Regions from separate parts of the Homo sapiens genome. Here region 1 is linked to region 2. Evidence: promoter capture Hi-C in human tissues and cell types (Jung and others, 2019). All regions are on one chromosome and are shown on one strand. Each heading gives the region's core, a stretch centred on a gene start or on the middle of the fragment in contact. The rest is flanking DNA. Distances are from core to core; before and after follow the strand shown. Region 1 has its middle 460 kb from the start of DCAF4L2. Region 2 holds the start of CNBD1 (cyclic nucleotide binding domain containing 1).

Evidence for each region. The method cuts DNA at HindIII sites, captures the fragments that hold promoters and counts their contacts. A contact is called where the count stands out against the background at its distance.
Region 1: a contact is called between a fragment that was not itself captured here and the fragment with the promoter of CNBD1 in region 2, in 2 of the 25 tissues and cell types used here (H1 embryonic stem cells and mesenchymal stem cells).

Annotation. Positions count from the first base shown.
Region 1 is chr8:87,409,081-87,414,930 of GRCh38, forward strand. It overlaps a transcript of CNBD1 not described here. Among named protein-coding and RNA genes, the nearest start is that of DCAF4L2, 460 kb to the right of the region's middle. The HindIII fragment of the contact is 5,338 bases long and covers 25-5,362 here.
Region 2 is chr8:86,864,950-86,870,846 of GRCh38, forward strand. It overlaps CNBD1 (cyclic nucleotide binding domain containing 1), which reads left to right and starts at 1,466. Exons shown (of 11, transcript NM_173538.3): 1 at 1,466-1,634. The coding sequence starts at 1,547. The HindIII fragment of the contact is 15,353 bases long and covers 1-5,897 here.

The DNA.
Region 1 (5,850 bases), core at 1,444-3,943, 550 kb after region 2:
AAGCTTAATGAGGAAGGCATGTCGAAAGCTGAGAAAGGCTGAAAGCTTTTAGCTAAATAGTAGCCATGTTTTGAATGCAAAGGAGAAGTTCTTGAAGAAAATTAAAAAGTTTTACTCCGGTAAACATGCAAATAATAAGAAAGCAACAGTTCTTACTGCTGATACAGAGAAAGCTTTAGTGGTCTGAATAGAAGATCAAATAAGCCACAACACTCCCTCAAGCCTCAGCATCTAGAGCAAGGTCCTAACTGTTCAATTCTATAAAGGCTGAGAGATGAGGAAGCTGCAGAAATTTGAAAGCTAACAGAGGTTTGTTCATGAGCTTTAAGGAAAGAAGCCATCTCCATAACATAAAACTGTAAGGTGAAGCAGCAAGTGCTGATGTAGATGCTGCAGCAAATTATCCAGGAGATATAACTAAGATCTTTGATTAAAATAGCTACAGTAAACAATAGACAAAACAGCCCAATTTTGGAAGCATATGCCATCTTCAACTTTCATAGCAGGAGAAGAGAAGTCAATGCCTGGTTTCAAAGCTTCAAATAATAGGCAGACTCTCCTGTTAGGGCCTAATAAAGCTGATGACTTCAAGTTGAAGCTAATCCTCATTTACCACTCTGAAAACCCAGGGGCTTAAGAATTAAGCTAAGGAATTAATTTGGCTGGGTGTGGTGGCTCATGCCTGTAATCCTAGCACTTTGGGAGGCTGAAGCGGGAGGATTGCCAGATCTCAGGAATTCCAGACCAGCCTGTGCAACACAGTGAAACCCCATCTCTACTAAAATAGAAAAAATTAGCCTGGTGTGGTGGTGTGTACCTGTAGTCCCAGCTACTCAGGAGGCTGAGGCAGGAGAATCGCTTGAACCCAGGAGAGGGAGGTTGTAGTGAGCCGAGATAGTGCCACTGCACTCCAGCCTGGGTGACAGAGCGAGACTCTGTTTCAAAAAAAAAAAGAATTAAGTTAAATTTATTCTTCCTGTACTACATAAATGGAACATAAAAGCCTGGATGACAGCCCATCTGTTTATAGCATGGTTCACTGAATATTTTAAGCCCAGAATTGAGACCTACTGCTCAGAAGAAAAGATTCATTTACAATGCACATAGTCAACCAAGAGCTCTGATGGAGATCCACATGCCTGCTACCACAACATTTATTCTATAGCCCAAGGATTGAAAAGTAATTTCGATTTTCAAGTCATATTATTTAAAAAATACATTTCATTAGGATATAGCTCCCATAGATAGTGATTCCTCTGATGGTTCTGAGCAAAGCAAATGAAAATCTTCTATAAAGAATTTACTATTCTGGATGCCATTAAGAATGTGGTGATTCATGGGAGGAGGCTGATATGTCAACATTAACAGGAGTAACTAAATTGCTGCAATTTCATAATAAAATTTGAATGCATGAGGTGATGCTTCTTATAAATAAGCAAAGAAAGTGGTTTCTTGAGATACATCACCTCCTGGTGAAGATGATGTGAACATTGTTGAAATCACAACAAAAAATTTAGAATATTACATAAACTTAGTGAAGCAATGACAGGATTTGAGAGGATTGACTGACAGGATTTGGGAGGATTGACTGCAGTTTTAAAAGAAGTTCTACTGTGGGTAAAATGCCATCAAACAGCATTGCTGCTACAGAGGAATCTTTTGTGAAAGGAAGAGTCAGCTGATGAGCAAATTTCATTGTTGCATTGTTGTCGTATTTTGAGAAACTGCCACAGCCACCCCAACTATTAGCAACTACCACCCTGATAAATCTGCAGCTGTTCACATCAAGGAAAGACCCTCCATCTGCAAAAAGATTATGACTCACTGAAAGCTCGGATGATTGTTAGCATTTTTTTAGCAAGAAAGTATTTTTTAATTGGTGTATGTACATTTTTTAGATATACTGCTATTGCACTTAATAGTCTATACACTGCAGTATTGTTTAAACATAACTTTTATATGCTTTGGGAAACCAAAATTTGTGTGACTCGCTTTATTATGATACTTGGGGGTCTGGAACAAAACCAGCAATAACTCCAGAAATACAAGTATGCTTGCATTTTTCATATTTCATTTCATTATTGCTTTACTTACCTGTCTCTAAGAATAGAGTGTATAGCCATCCAAGGTCAGAGGCTGTGTTTTATTTATCCTCATTTCTGGCATATAGTTGAAGCTAAACATATTTACAGAGTGAATAAACAACAGGATTTCTTACAACCCTATGTTTAACTTGTGATTCACCACAAAAGTCCACTTTTTTGCTTTCTATAGCTTTGCCCAAGCATTTCATAGGCAGGATTAACCTAGCTATATCATATATATATATATATATATATATATATATTTCATTCACACATATTTTTAAAAACTCATTCTACATTATCCTCCAAACATTGTATTATTGCCAAAAGTTGTTGATTCATATCCAACCAATTAAGCCATTTCTTGGAAATATGTTAAGTACAGTTAATGATGTCACTTATTAAAATTAAATTTATTGAAGTTTTATGTATATCCATTTATTGACAGTTTTGTAGTCTTTTCTGGCATAAGACATGTGTTGGGCTTTTTTAGATTTTTTTTTTTTACAACCATTACTATAATAATTGTATTACACCCATTGATGTTTTGTAAATTTTCACCACCAAGTTATGTACTGAAAGGGTTCATGTAAGTTCATTGTATTTTTTCATTAAGACAACAATAATATTGATATGATAAATGCCATCTTAGTGACATTCTGATATCATTTTTCAATAATAATATAATAAGTGACCATGAAGGGAATAGAAACCTAAACAATATTATTGTTTAAACAGTAAGCAATTTGTTTAAAAAAGTTTTGCTTGTACGGGAGAAGTGTTTGACATAGCTTTTTTTGTTTTTCTTATTACTACAACTGAATGAAATTTTCTAGGGATTACCTTGACATTCATTAGTGCTTTTGGGGCACAAATACCCTTTTTTGATAATCAGGAATTACTTAGTATCTCAGATTTATAATGCTAAAGTGTTTAGAAAAAAATTAAGGAACCTGAGTTTTTTTCATTTTTCACTTCAAATTAAGATGCTGTTCTCCTTCATTTTGTCTGCTTAAGGCAAACTTGGAAAATGCTAATCATTTATGTATGTAATCTCCATCATCATCTAACATCCAAATCCTTGATATATCATGTGTTTTGGTATGTGTTTTCCTTCTAAATGTTAAAACTAAGATGAAATGACATCTGTACTCAAAGCAAAATATAAAATTAACAAAAACAGAACAGTAATACTATGTCAATATATCACTTCTGGTTACTCGATATGACCAGGATTTGCTTCTCAAATGTCAGAATAAAAGAAATGTGCCTATCATGTGCAAGTGATTTTATTAAAACATGCCTATGTGTTCATGCTTTTGAAAGACACTCACCCACATGGTCCCTGTTCAAATAATTATTTCCCGAATGCACATGAGGCTAAATTTCACCAAGAAAAATCACCAAGAGAAATAGGAACTTCACTATGCTAATAGACACTATGTTTTCACATTTGTGTTTCTTGTGTTAAGCAAAAAGTGGCTGAGACAGGTGTCTCAATTGATAGATGTTTATTTAGCTAAAGTTTGAGGACTCATCCAGGAAAAACATAGTCACAGGAGCCTCTGTGACATGTACTTTTCCGAAGAAGATTTGAGGAACTTCAGTATTTAAAGGGGAAACATCAAGAAGAGGAGAAAAGAGGGAGGTAGGTTAGGCAGTGATGTAAATGATTACATTCTTGTGAGGCTCTTATATAAGACAAGGTAAACATGCGAAAAGAAGGAATAGAGAAAAAGTCAATTATGAATTTGTCTCAGGGTAGGTGGAGGGATGATTTCTGGTCCTGTCCTTGTCCTGTACCTGTGAAGATAAGCTAGTAATTGATATCTTCAGGGCGAGATACAACAGAACTCGGGTTTAGGTCTAGAATATAGGAGGGTATGTATTCTAAAAGATTTAGGGGCTCACAAGGGGCTCTCAATTGTACCTAGTGAACGATTTGTGAGAGAGACCATGTGAGGAGATATGCGGCCTTATATCCTTGTGGGAACGTGGCTTGTGGATGAGGCTATGACACAGGGTTGTGAAATTACAGCTATCTGGGAACAAAAGGAAGGCAGTATTGTGTGACTCATTTTCCAAGCTTAACTTTCCCTTTTGCATAGTGAGTTTTGGGGTCCCAAGATTCTATTTTTTCACACTTACTACTTTAAATTTCTATAGTTGTGTTTTAAAATGATTCAAGTCTTCATCCACTTAAAATATTGTTTAACTTTTAACACCTAGTGTCATTTTGCTTCAGGTATTTACCTTGGTAGATTTAATACTATGACTCAATTAAATCCCTTGAAGTTTAATTGGTGAGCCTAAAGAGCTTAGCCACTGAAGGCAAAAATGCTTAAGATATTATTATATTTACCAAGTGTTCCAAATTCTTCTTTTTTGTTTGTTTGGTTTTATTTATTGCTATTCTATCTTAAGGCATCTACAGTGTACACACTTAGAACCTACTCATCTGACAAAGGGCTAATATCCAGAATCTACAATGAACTCAAACAAATTTACAAGAAAAAAACAAGCAACCCCATCAAAAAGTGGGTGAAGGATATGAACAGACACTTCTCAAAAGAAGACATTTATGCAGCCAAAAAACACATGAAAAAATGCTCATCATCACTGGCCATCAGAGAAATGCAAATCAAAACCACAATGAGATACCATCTCACACCAGTTAGAATGGCAATCATTAAAAAGTCAGGAAACAACAGGTGCTGGAGAGGATGTGGAGAAATAGGAACACTTTTACACTGTTGGTGGGACTGTAAACTAGTTCAACCATTGTGGAAGTCAGTGTGGCGATTCCTCAGGGATCTAGAGCTAGAAATACCATTTGACCCAGCCATCCCATTACTGGGTATATACCCAAAGGATTATAAATCATGATACTATAAAGACACATGCACACATATGTTTATTGCGGCACTATTCACAATAGCAAAGACTTGGAACCAACCCAAATGTCCAACAATGATAGACTGGATTAAGAAAATGTGGCACATATACACCATGGAATACTATGCAGCCATAAAAAATGAAGAGTTCATGTCCTTTGTAGGGACATGGATGAAACTGGAAATCATCATTCTCAGCAAACTATCGCAAGGACAAAAAACCAAACACCACATGTTCTCACTCATAGGTGGGAATTGAACAATGAGAACCCATGGACACAGGAAGGGGAACATCACACTCCAGGGACTGTTGTGGGGTGGGGAGAGGTGGGAGGGATAGCATTAGGAGATATACCTAATGCTAAATGACAAGTTAATGGGTGCAGCACACCAACATGGCACATGTATACATATGTAACAAACCTGCACATTGTGCACATGTACCCTAAAACTTAAAGTATAATAATAAATAAAAAAAGAAATTAATATGTACTGGATATATGTGGGTGGAAGGTTAAGAAAGTAGGGGTTGGTTGGCATATGCTAATGCTACAACTTATATCATGTAACATATAATAACAATATATCTTCTTGTACTATTACCACAACTGTTAATTAATTAAACATTACTGGTTATCCTTGTTATGTATTTTTCTTTATAACTTTTAGTTTGTTTCAAAATTACTGGTGTGACTTGAAAACTAAAGTAAAAAACTTGTTATTTAAAAAGGATTTTTTTTACAATTTAGTATACATTATTTTTTATGCTATTTTGCAAGCTGCTTGAGGTATGTTGTTTGAATGGAGAATCCATCTTATGATAAACACAGAGCTTCACAGGCAGGATTTCCTTAAATGACTTACAGGTCTGA
Region 2 (5,897 bases), core at 216-2,715:
AACATAATTAATGTTTTCTATTCTAGTTATTAATGTTATCTAGATGAAGTTGCTCCAGAAATGGTTGGTTTACACTCTGCTAGTCCAGTTCAGGTATCAGACAGCCACAGTCCTTTTGTATATTACCTGATGAAATGGGGGAGTTCCCTGATTCCCCTCACAGAATGTGTGACAGGGCTGTGGTTTGCCTGCTTGGTTGGTCATCGCTGCTGCTCAAACCCTGTGGGGAGGGGGAGCACACAGACGGACAGGTGCAGGAGCCCAAGTGGGCATTGTGTTGCAGTGTGCCCTTGTAGCCCTACCCTCCATGGATGGCTTGATGTTAACAAGCTCAATGGACCCTCTGCCTTTTCACAAGGGTAGAGGGCCAGTGTGATAGCTTTCTGTATCCTGAATTCTTGCCCAGCATCCCAGAAGTACTGGGTCACACATGGGCTTGAAGGAAGAACTCAGGGTTTTATTGAGTGGTGGAGGTGGCTCTCAGCAGGATGGATGGGGAGCTGGAAGGGGGATGGAGTGGGAAAATGATCTTCCCCTGGAGTTTGGCCGTACAGTGGCTGAACTCCTCTCAGTGTTCAGATGTTCCTCCTTTTCTCACTTTCTCTGCCTGTCATTCTGCCATTCATCTATTTGTCTCATCTCTTCGTCTGCTTCTGGAGCCTGGGATTCAGGGTTTATATGGGTACAGGATAGGGTGTGTTGCAGGCCAAAAGGCAACTTTTTAGGTGCAAAAACAGGAATGCCTGTCCCAATCTAGGGCCGCAGGTCTCCAGGCTTGAGGGTGGGGCCTTTACTGGGGAACTGCCCTCTTCTACCCAGTGTTTCCCTGTCTCCTGTCCGTATCACTCTAACAGTTATGATACCAGGACCCTATTTCTAAAGGCCTTGGAAGATAATACACAGCATCAAAAGATACATTAGTTAGGATTGTAAACCCTAGCCATTGTAACTATCCTTAATTATTGTGAAGCAGCAGAAAATAACAAAAAAACATGTTCCACACTCTAGCAGAATATAGTTAAATGTAAGCTGGGGTGGGTTTATTGGTGTATGATAATTAGAAGGGATGGTTTACCCTATAAATGTGGCCATGAAGAACAGTATAAATATGCTATCTCTGTTACTGCTGGTACAGAAAGGGCCTGTGATACCCAGTGTAAACATTTGGTAGGCAGGAAAAGGGCTCTGGACTATGGAAGACCAAGGAAGTGAATACTTTCATTTCACCTAGACTCATGAGTGCTGTTGATTCTGCTGTATCAGCCTTGTGGGCTACAGTTTCCTTCTTCATTATTGCTACTCTCTATAGCTCATAAAGTCCTCCTTATGATTTCCACTGGACTAAAATGTAGCATAGTTCTTCCTGGTCTAGATGACACTCTTGGAAATGCACAAACAATGGATAAGAACTATGAACAAGAAGATTCCGTAGGATTCAACCTATCAGAGAGGACCTTGAAGTTCTGCTTTATGAGCCTGCAGGCAAAGAGTGATCATTTGCCTCTCAAGCAGCCTCTGGTCATCTATCTGCCTTTGAGCCATCAAGATGCCGATGTCTTCTCTTCCAGCAGCTATTTTGTCTCACATGACAGCTATTAACAATGTGCCTCCTCCTCCACTTCACAGTATACCAAGTGAGTGGGAAATACTTTGATGCTCTTATTCACCTACCATTGTTTTCAGCGGTTCTTACCCCAGCTATGAAAATTGGGGGTATTTCAGGGTTGATAGGGACATTGGGAATCTTATTGACAGTGCTGAAGAATGGAAAGAACATAGATGTGTAAATCCTGCTTGGTCTACTTGAAGTCATTTCAGTACTCTAGGTCTTAAGTATTTTTTCTCTGTAAAATGAGGATCTTTACGAACTCTTAGAGCTTCAGATACATTGAAATATTTCTAAAGATGAAAGAAAACAAAGATTTAGAGAGGCCACATGTTCCACCAGCTATCAGGTTCCTTTTTCTAGCAGATCTTCTACTCCCTACCAAGAGTTGGTCCTACTACGCTTAATGGGATAATTAATACTTAATATTCTCTAGGAGAATTCTCATTTCAATTTGACAAGGAAAAAAAGATAATTCCTACTATTCTGACTGTGAAATTTATTCCTATTTAACTTTTTTATTTTCTAGTCTTACTTATAAGAATTAAGTATAGAACTAGATATTTCAAAGTTTATATAATTGACAGTATTTTCTCATTTTATGTAATTAGTCTAAACCTATAACGTTTTCTTAAGATTGTAAACACTTCTCATGGCCATCGAATTTATAAGATCTATTATTTGAACACCATCATTCTGACTAGCAATATGTATGAGTTCCAGTGTTAGTTAAGATTTTTAAAAAATATCTGGATAACAAAGGTAATACTTGTGATCCTTTTCAACTTCAATAAAGCATTAACTCTTATTTTATTATTCATTGGGCAGATTTATAGTATTGATTTGAAGAAGCTAAGCCATCCATCCTTTTCCCTTCCTGTGAAAGTTAATTTCTCCAAATACATTTTAAAAAATTAATGCTCATAGTCTCCAGGTTAAAAGGTATAACAGGTGGCAGTTGATACTCCTTGAAGGGGTACACTGATGTCTTGAATAGTGTTAGACAAAATCCTTATGTTAAACAAAATTAATTCCATTTGTATTATAGTGAAAATAATCTTGCATCTGGTCAAAGTTTTCTATTTCTACTTGAGTGGAAATAAGAATTAAGTGCAATTTTGCTGAAGAAACACAGCTTCTACTATTCATGTTTTATTTGTGAAAAAGAAAATAAAAGTCACCATAAAATAATATTTTTAAAAAGCCCAGGAAACTCGGTAGCTGGGAGTTAAAAGATCAAATTAATTTAGAATCAATGAGATGAGATTTGTGCTACCCTCTGTAGTGCCTCCCAAGGACACTTAACTTCTGTGAAGTGATTAAAAGACGAAAAATCAGCAGCAATTTAGATCTCAGAACTGAATAGAGCATAATGGAAAGCGGTGGAGCTCCCAGTGTTCCTTTAGAGGTTCGCACTTGATGTTTCTATGTCTGCAACTTCTCTTTGAGGACGTGCCCTGCTTGCCTTAATAACTGTGTCTTTTTGCTAACTGTAGCAAGACAATAATTTTCCTTAGCAAGCACTGATTGTCTCACTGCTGAAACAATGATCTCATGGAAGCCAATGTGTAATGAATGCTTTCAATTTATGAAATGACTGAACCTGAATTACAAAGGATATATAAATGAGTTTTAAATGCAGTGGGCATAAATAGGAATGCACATTTACATACCTAAAAAGAAAATCCAGCCATTGTATACATCCTTGATACTTTGTATTTGTTGAGTTAGGTTGGATTTAGTGACTCATATTCACCTTCTCTGTAAGTATTTATTTATTTATTTATTCATTTTTATTTATTTTTGAGATGAAGTCTTGCTCTGTTGCCCAGGCTGGAGTGCAGTGGCACGATCTCAGCTCACCACAACCTCCGCCTCCTGGGTTCAAGCGATTATCCTGCCTCAGCCTCTTGAGTAGCTGGGACTACAGGTGTGCCTGGCTAATTTTTGTATTTTTAGTAGAGATGGGGTTTCACTGTGTTGGCCAGGCTGGTCTCTATCTCCTCACCTCGTGATCTGCCCCCCTCAGCCTCCCAAAGTGCTAGGATTTACAGGCGTGAGCTACCACGCCCCGGCTGTCTGTATTTATATGTGAATATTGTTAATTGAGTGCTTTCTGTAGTTAGTATGTAAACATTTAGCACGTTATGTTATTTCATGTATTTCTTACAAGAACTCTATGTCTTCGGTGGACAGAATTAACGGTCCCAGTGATATCCATGCCTTAATTCACAAAACTTATGAATAGGTTATACTACATGTTAGGGGGAATTGAGGCTGCACATGCAATTAAAGCAGCTAATTGGCTCCACTTGAGATGGGAGAATATTCCGGTTTGTCTGGGTACCAGCCACAATTGTGAGAGCCCTTATAAGCAAAAGAGGAAGGCGAGAGAGTCAGAATGATATGTGAGAAAGACTCGACTGGCCCTTGCTGGCTTTGAAGATGGAGGGGGGACAAAAGCCAAGGAATTCAGGCAGCCTCTAGAAGCAGGGAAAGGCAAAGAAATGGATTCTCCCCTAGCGTCTCCAGAAGAATTGCAGTCCTGCTGATGTGATTTTAGCCCAGTGAAATCAGGTTCAGAGTTCTCATTTCCAGAACTGTTAGATAATACGTTTTTATTTTTTTAAGCCACTAAGGCAGTGGCAATCTTTTACAGCAGCAATATAAAATTAATACGTGTTCCAGTTTACACTTAAGGATAATAAGGCTTAGGTTTCATACTAAGGTTCACACAGATGTTAAGTAGCAGAGGCTCCTCGTAGCGTCATCTGTGTAAACAAACTCTACTCACAACAACAACAAAGCTGGCAGCATTCCGGGTTGCCCCTTACCTCCTGCCCTGAATTTCTTGCCCATTTGGCTACTTAAATGCTATTAATATATGGGAGGCAACATGTCACACATCTTCAAACCCTCCTCCACTGCTATCTTGTTGACTCTGAAATTCAGACTCAGACACTTCAAGTAGTTAAGCTTCTTGAGCTAGTTTGCTGCTTGTGGTTCTTTCTTCTTTGAAACTTTCAAGTCTTTTCCTTCTCTGGTCTCTTTGACTTCTGTCTCAGGATTCTTCACAGTTTGCTAACCTTAAGGGAGGAATGAATGTTCTCAAAAGCAGAAGAGCTGTTCCACTTTTCATTCTGGATGAGAATTATTTTAAAAACATCATAGCTAACAAACTGTACAGTTTTACCACCTAAGTGAAATGGCATCTGGTTTAAGTACACACATGACCCATTATTTTTATAAGTTGATTTCCTGAAGAGATAGAAAAAAAGAAAAAAAAATTCTTATTTTAAAAAATTTTTAATGGAAGGCAAGAAGCTGTCCTTCACCGTTTGGTTTATGGTCCAGTTAACTTCCTTTGTTGGGATAAATTTGCTGCTACTCTATTTTCTTCACACTAATTAGGCTTATTCTTCTGAGGAAGAATGGGTTTAAAAATATGCTTTACATTTTGACTACTGGTTGACTTGAAAAAAAAATTTCTGTGCTTTTCCAGTTCCAAAAATGTTTTAATTCACCAGACATTTCTAGGTATCTTTCATTTATTCCAACATATGAGTTGGAAAAAAAAAAGCATTCAAGATAAGACCAGAGACACATCAAGAAATTTAGAAACAAGATAGTACTCTTTTTTTTTTTTTTTCTGAGACGGAATCTCGCTCTGTCGCCCAGGCTGGAGTGCAGTGGCGTGATTTCATTTCACTGCAAACTCTGCCTCCTGAGTTCACGCCATTCTCCTGCCTCAGTCTCCTGAATATCTGGGACTACAGTATATGTTAGTCGCAGCCACGCCTGGCTAATTTTTTTGTATTTTTTTAGTAGAGACGGGCTTTCACCGTGTTGGCCAGAATGGTCTCGATCTCCTGACCTCGTGATCCACCCGCCTCGGCCTCTCAAAGTGCTGGGATTACAGATGTGAGCCACCGCGCCTGGCCAACACGATAGTACTCTTAAGCGAATGTTTTTCTTCGCTCTTTTTCATTTTATGGCTTTACATTTACTGCAAATCTGAAAACACTGTGTCATCATTCCTAAGCGTTCAAAGGCGTTTTCTATAATTTGAGAGTTTTTCAGTTCTTTGGTAGCCAAGGATTAAAGGTATATATTTGAAAAAGTGAATATTGTACCATTTAAAAGTTTTAAACCATTCAAATCCTAGGAATGCAGGTAAGAAAAAAAGGAGGCTTGTCAGTGACGAAGAAAAACAGGGAAGTGGGTTGTATAATGTATAAAGAAACCAAGTTTAAGGAAAAGAAAGAACTAAAATAAATAAGAATGAAAATTC